Linked DNA regions of Homo sapiens: region 1 is linked to region 2. Evidence: promoter capture Hi-C in human tissues and cell types (Jung and others, 2019). All regions are on one chromosome and are shown on one strand. Each heading gives the region's core, a stretch centred on a gene start or on the middle of the fragment in contact. The rest is flanking DNA. Distances are from core to core; before and after follow the strand shown. Region 1 holds the start of LOC124900423 (small nucleolar RNA SNORA72). Region 2 holds the start of SLC45A3 (solute carrier family 45 member 3).

The links. The method cuts DNA at HindIII sites, captures the fragments that hold promoters and counts their contacts. A contact is called where the count stands out against the background at its distance.
Region 1: a contact is called between a fragment that was not itself captured here and the fragment with the promoter of SLC45A3 in region 2, in 8 of the 25 tissues and cell types used here (H1 embryonic stem cells, aorta, bladder and 5 more).

What each region holds. Positions count from the first base shown.
Region 1 is chr1:205,730,238-205,733,699 of GRCh38, reverse strand. The region is part of intron 1 of NUCKS1 (nuclear casein kinase and cyclin dependent kinase substrate 1); the gene reads left to right. LOC124900423 (small nucleolar RNA SNORA72) reads left to right here and starts at 2,348; the gene lies at 2,348-2,479. The HindIII fragment of the contact is 6,338 bases long and covers 1-3,462 here.
Region 2 is chr1:205,678,829-205,682,252 of GRCh38, reverse strand. It overlaps SLC45A3 (solute carrier family 45 member 3), which reads left to right and starts at 1,744. Exons shown (of 5, transcript NM_033102.3): 1 at 1,744-1,859. LOC105371701 (a long non-coding RNA gene) reads right to left here and starts at 1,883. Exons shown (of 4, transcript XR_007066825.1): 1 at 1,754-1,883. RefSeq lists a silencer at 1,980-2,199. The HindIII fragment of the contact is 16,856 bases long and covers 1-3,424 here.

The DNA.
Region 1 (3,462 bases), core at 891-3,390, 51 kb before region 2:
GACCATTTTCTATATTATATTTTAATATAATGCCTGCCATTTATGTTATTTATTAAATATTTTATTTATTATTTAATTTATTATTTAAACATTTAATTTTATAGAATATCTTTTAGATCTGTCAAGCAATTTAGGTTATCAGTTCCAACAGAGGAAGAACTAAGGCCCAGAGAAATTACATGATTTTCTTGACATTCTAGAACCAGAACCCAGGATTCCTAGTACAAAGAGTCCATACTAATTCCTTTCTTGAGTGTTTCTAGTGATAGAGTAAGGAAGTAGCCATTGTTAGCAGACAGTTAAAGCTCTTTATGTTGAACCTACACTTAATGTGATTGCTAAAGCTAAGCTGTACCTCTACTACTCCTTTCACATCAAAGCCCTAAAGTAGCTAACATGTTTTCCCATTTTACAAGTTAAATATTCTCAATTTATTCATTTGTTCTTCATATGATATACCGTTTACCATTCTGGTTGTCCATCCTTATGTAGTTTCATAGGATATATCCATTGCTACGTCGTACCCAGAAATGGGGTAATAATATGTTAGTTGCCACCCCACAAGCATGGGATAAGCTAGAATTATACCTACAAGTTCGGAACCTGTATTTTAATTATTAGAGGATAAGATGTAAGAGTTCCTCTTCTAGATACCTTTCTTCCCCTGGTTCTATGACCCATTTTTTTTATCCTAAATAATACAGAAAATGGTCGTGTTTGCATTATGATCATCATACTATTTTTCATGGCATTTGTCATTAAAAAATCACTGTTTTGCCAGAACATGGCAGGCATTTCCATAGTAGCCCAAAAATATTAGATTTTTTCATAGTCATATTTTTAAGAAAGAAAATATATTTTTATTGTAATAAAATATGCTTAGCATAAAATTTACCATCTTAACTTTTTTTTTTTTTTTTGAGACAGAGTCTTGCTCTGTTGCCAGGCTGGAGTGCAGTGGTGCGATCCCTGCTCACTGCAACCTCTGTCTCCCAGGTTCAAGCAATTCTCCTGCATCAGTCTCCCAAGTAGCTGGCACTACAGGCACGCACCACCACGCCCAGCTAATTTTTGTACTTTTACTAGAGACGGGTTTTCACCATGTTGGCCAGGATGGTCTCGATCTTTTGACCTCATGATCCGCCCACCTTGGCCTCCCAAAGTGCTGGGATTACAGGCATGAGCCACTGTGCCCGGCCCATGTTAACCATTTTTAAGTGTATAGTTCAGTATTGTTAAGTACTTGACATTGTTGTAAAGAACTCTTAATCTTGCAAAACTGAAACTAAACCCACTAAACAACAGCTCCTCATCCCCACTCTTCCAGCCTCTGGCAACCACCACTCTACTTTCTGTCTCTCTGAATTCATCTACTCTAGGTCCCTCATGTACATGGAATTAATAGTCATATTTAAAGTTAGCTTTCCTAATAATATAGTATCTTTGGTAATATAAACTCAGCTTCTTACAATAAAATATATAGTTGGAGTATATTTTATAGTTTTGTTAAACTAAAGAAAAACAGAAGGTGGAACTCCTTAAGAGCCTTGTTTTTTCTCTTTCTAATGCTGAGTATGTAACTATATATTCCTCTACATATAAGCCCAAGCCTTTTTTTCCAGAATTCACCTCCATCCATACCATCTCCACATACTATACTAGAAGGTGGACCAGTGTTTGCAGTCTGACCATCCTGTCTTTGAATTTAAATGGTGTCTTAATCTATACAGCCAAGAATATCCCTCTGCTCAGGTTTAAGTATAGGTGGTAATGTATATTTATCTTAAATTTTTTTTTTTTTTTTGAGACGGAGTCTCTCTCTTTCGCCCAGGCTGGAGTGCAGTGGCGTGATGTTGGCTCACTCACTGCGAGCTCTGCCTCCCGGGTTCAAGCCATTCTCCTGCCTCAGCCTCCCGAGTAGCTGGGACTACAGGCGCCCGCCACCACACCCAGCTAATTTTTTAGTATTTTTAGTGGAGACGGGGTTTCACCACGTTGGCCAGGATGGTCTCAATCTCCTGACCTCGTGATCTGCCCGCCTCGGCCTCCCAAAGTGGTGAAATTATAGGCGTGAGCCACTGCGCCTGGCCTATTTCTCTTAATTTTTTAAGTTCACTTGATCAATTTAGGCCTACAGTAACAGTGCATTTTTTAATCTAAGGCTCTTTTGCCAGGTAGGCTGTTTGGGTACTAACATGGAAGCTTACATGTATATCTCTAGAGAAGAAGTATTAAACTTTTAGATTTAGAGTGCAGAGTACAAAAATAGAAATGAAGATTTGTTTGAGATGTTAAAGATACGTTACTTGATAGGGAGTACTTAAAGTCATTTAGAGTCAAATAGATTCTGCAGATATTCTCACTGTTTTGATTTTGTAATAGTCAGGACAGGCTAACCATTCACTTTATTAAGACCATGCATATATCCCCAGAACTAGTTCTTTCCTGAGGTCTAGTTTTATAAATGTTGCTGATAAACCAGGTCTGTAAAATTGGAAAAGGAAAAAAAAAGTTTAGAAACAAAAGAATAGAGTCAAATACATAGATGTACATAAATCTGTGAGGCTTTCATAGTTTTTTAAATAAAGCATCTTTTGACTGGACCAATTAATTTGTTTCCTTCCCCTTCTGTATAAAGCTTAACATTACCATAATTTTTGTGCATTATAATGTAACTGTACTATACCTAAAAATTGCTTTTGCCTTGAAAAGCTTAGTAATAACCTTGTTTATCAAGTATACATATATATGTGTGTAGCAGTAAGAGTAAAATATCATTTACAACTTTAGCTTATAAATAGGGCATCTTTGTATATAATGAATACATAGGTACATGGTGATTTGGCTCATTTTGCTGTTTTATGTATATTTGTTTTGAGAGACGGGAGATTGTTTTGTAGAAAAGAATGGTATTTGAGACCGGGCACGGTGGCTCACGCCTGTAATCCCAGCACTTTGGGAGGCCAAGACGGGCGGATCACGAGATCAGGGGAGACCAGCCTGGCCAACATGGTGAAACCCCGTCTCTACTAAAGATACAAATATTAGCCAGGCGTGGTGGCACACGCCTGTAATCTCAGCTACTCGGGAGGCTGAAGCAGGAGAATCGCTTGAACTTGGGAGGCAGAGGTTGCAGTGAGCCAAGATCTCGCCATTGCACTCTAGCCTGGGCGACAGGGCAAGACTTCATCTCAAAAAAAAAAAAAGAGAGAGAAAAGAATGGTATTTGAATTATCACTGAGATGAGCAGTATGAGAATTGTAGCTTGACATACTTGTGGTTTATGCTATGCTTTCTTATAACAGAATGTTAAGTACTTAGGCTTAAGTGGGGGCCTTTAAAAAATAATTTTTGGCTGGGTGCAGTGGCTCGTGCCTGTAATCCCAGCACTTCGGGAGGCTGAGGCAGGATGACTACCTGAGCTCAGGAGTTTGAGACCAGCCTGGGCAACACCAGGAGACC
Region 2 (3,424 bases), core at 495-2,994:
TCATCGTGTTAGCCAGGATGGTCTTGATCTCCTGACCTCGTGATCCGCCCGCCTCGGCCTCCCAAAGTGCTGGGATTACAGGCGTGAGCCACTGCGCCTGGCCAACTATTATTATTATAACATGAGGCTACATCAGCAGAAAGAGGGGGATTTTCAGAGCAGAGAGCCCTACTGTACCCTGTATTGGGTGGGGCCTGGCCAGTGCATCCACCTGGTTTAGTTGGGAAGGGGTGATTGGGTAGGGCCCAGGATCACCATGGGATCCAGGCTGTGTGCTCACTCCCCTGAGCTCTCCTTCCTCATCCCCCTGTCATAAGGCATAAAGCACAAGGGCCCCTGGAAAGAAGTGGTGGGAGGCAGGAGGAAGAGGGGGGCTCTTACTTGTCTGTGGTGCGACAACTCTCTCATGTTCCCAGTGTTCTTTCCCAAGCCTGCAAAATACCACCGTCCACTCTCTCCTGGCTCTGTAATTTTCCAGCTGACCTGAAATTTCCCCTGACTCCTGACCTCTTTCCTGGAGGAGAGGGGACACCAGCTCAGAGACCCTGGACTCCACCCTAGTCTCTCTGCTTGCCACGAGAGGGTATGCCAAAGACTTTGGAAAGCCATCTCCAGGAGGGTCCCCAGGTAGAGGTGTGTCTGCTCCAGGGAGGCAACGCTGAGACAGTTTTCAAGTTAAACTTGTTTAGTGACTCAGAAGGTAGATTCTTGATTTTTCTCTTCTCAACTCTCTCTGGCACCTGCTCTCTGTTCCCCACTACCACCAGGGCGCCACTATTTCCTCTCCCTTCTCTATCTCCCTTTCTTCTCTGCCTCCTTCTACCTCTCAGCTGGAAGGTGCCCTTAGAAATCATTTGGCTCACCCCCTCTTACAGAGGCCCAGAACATGGAAGGGACTTGGCCCACGTTATACGGCTGTTGACACAGGGCCAGCATTGGAACCCAGTGCCCCAGTGCCTGGTTGGCTAAGGCCAACCAGGTCTTCCCCTTCGAAGGCATCTTCCTGGGACTTTGTAGTATTCAAGTCAACAATCCAACTAAATTGGATTTCTCTCCACCCAATAAAACTCCATGGAGGAAAAAAAGACAAAACTGCCCCCCAACCCCCAACCCCAGGGCCAGCCTGGGACTCCATCAAAGACATTCTGGAACAGGTATCTGTTCGGACCTTGCTCAACAGCTGACAAAGAGAACATTTCATTGGCAATTTATCATCCATTCTTCCCCGTACACACTCTTAAGAAGAAAAAAAATTGGAATTTGGTTTTCAGCGCAGAAAGAGGGATTGAGTTAGCTCTGTCTGCGTCGGAGAATAGCAAAGAGCAGAAGGGTAATTCGGAGAGAATGTGACATCTCCTTTGAAGGGATGGTCCTGGACAGGTAGGGAGCAGCTCTGCCTGGAGATCGGGTGGCCAGAATGGCACGCCTGGGTAATGGTCGCAGCAGACTGGCTCCGAGTAGGGGAGGGGAGGTGCCCCGCGAAGCCGGGTAGCTTTCACCTAAATGTTTGGTGGCGAGCGACAGAGGGGGCGGTGCCCTGCCCTAGGTAATGATAGGGCAGTCTGGGAGCCACGCGGGGGCTGCCCGTCGCGGCGCGGCTACAAAGCCAGCTTCGAGACCTCCCGCTTTCTTCCCCTGGGTACCAGCCCCACCCCTCTATCCCCCCTCGCAGCACCCCCCACCTCCGTCCCGCCTCGCCCCGCCCCCCTCCTGGCAGTCCCAGCGCGCATGCTCTCTCCCCCCGCGGAGTAACCTGGAGATTTAAAAGCCGCCGGCTGGCGCGCGTGGGGGGCAAGGAAGGGGGGGCGGAACCAGCCTGCACGCGCTGGCTCCGGGTGACAGCCGCGCGCCTCGGCCAGGTAGGAGCGCGCCCCCTCCTCTCCCAGGGGTGAGGGTCCCGGCGCGGGAAAGGGAGCAGCAGTGCACGGCCGAGCTCCGCGCTGTCGCGTGTTTTGCGCCCCGCGGGATGGGGCTGCGCCGTGGCCGTCCGGGGCGCTGCGCGCCGAGCCCCGCGCGAATCCCAGAGGAGGGCGCGTCCCACACGCTCTGCCGGGGCGGGTGCCGAGTGCCCGGCGCCTGCACGGGTCCCCGCTGAGCTGTGCTTTCTTCCGCGGAGGGCGGGCAGGCAGGAGGTGCCCGCGCTGTCCCAGGCGGGGCGGCGGTGTGGGCGGGGAGCGGCCCCTCCCCGGAGCCCCGGGCCGGGCCGGACCGGGCCGGGCCGACGGCTGGCGGACCGGCCGCTGGCTCCTGTTGCAGCCTCCCGTGTCAGACTTTTCTTTGGAAAGTTGCGTTTATTTTCTTCTCTTGTCTGGGCTTCACCGGAAAGGGGCAGGATGAGTCACTGCGGCGCGCACAGTCCGGGACTTGGGGGAGCCGGGACGGGAGCCGACGGCCGCGGCGCCGCGGGGTGCTCAGGCCCAGGCCGGCTTTCTTGAGGAAGAGTGAGTTATTAAGACAGGGAAAGGGGACTGAGCCCTCTTGGACTTAGAACTGGGGCGAGCTCTGGGTACAGAGTTGGGACTGGACCGTGTGTGTGTGTGTGTGTGTGTGTGTGTGTGTGTGTGTGTTACTGTGTCCCCTTTTCAGCCTCAGTTTCCCCCTCTGTGGGGAGAGAAAGGCCGCTGTTTTCTCCTCGCCTCCCAGGTCTCAGGTGGGGAAGGACAGAGTTCTGCAAACGGCAAACAGGTGTGATGTGGTGGTACCTAGGCATCCCGTGCAGCTTCTCAGAGCTCTGGGCCTAGGCAGGCTTGCTAGAAAAGCCCCAGGGACCTGCATGCTTTCTCCCTAGTGCGGGTCAGGCCTTCCTGTAGTCTTCCGCTCCCCCCAGGCACTGCAGTCCTGTGAGTTGCTCTTGCCCTTGACCTCTGAATCAGCCTCCATCTTCCTGACAGACACTCTTGACCTGCTCAGCTTTTCCCCACTCCAGGGCGTGTTCCCTATGCTTCCTCTTTTTCCAAGGGGCCAGAGTTGGGGGTAGGGAGGGGTTTGGCATGGTGGGTACCTGGTGAGGACTCGCCCTTCAGCTGTTACACAGACCCGGTCCCGGTGGAGCAGGGACTAAGAATAGCCCAGCTGCTGTCTTGCTGCCCTGGAGTCTGCAGCCGGGCATTGCCAGTTGACCAGGGCCCGCAGTGACCCTTGCTGGGGTCCTGGAACCTTTGCTCAGGGGTGGGGTTGAGGTCCTAGGGGCTTCGGACTACCTTTCCTGAGGCACTTAGCAGATCTCCTTTCAGAGCAGAGACCGCCTTGGTGTAGACTCACCTGCCCGAGGCCTGGGAAACAGGCTGGCCTATTGGGGTGGGAGTGGGAGGGCCCAGGAGGCCCAGGCTAGACGGGAAGCCTGAGGAAACCCATAGAGCAGCATATTGTAGGGGATAAGTGGGACGCAATTTGAGGTCGCAGGCCATTCTGTTGGATCAGTCCC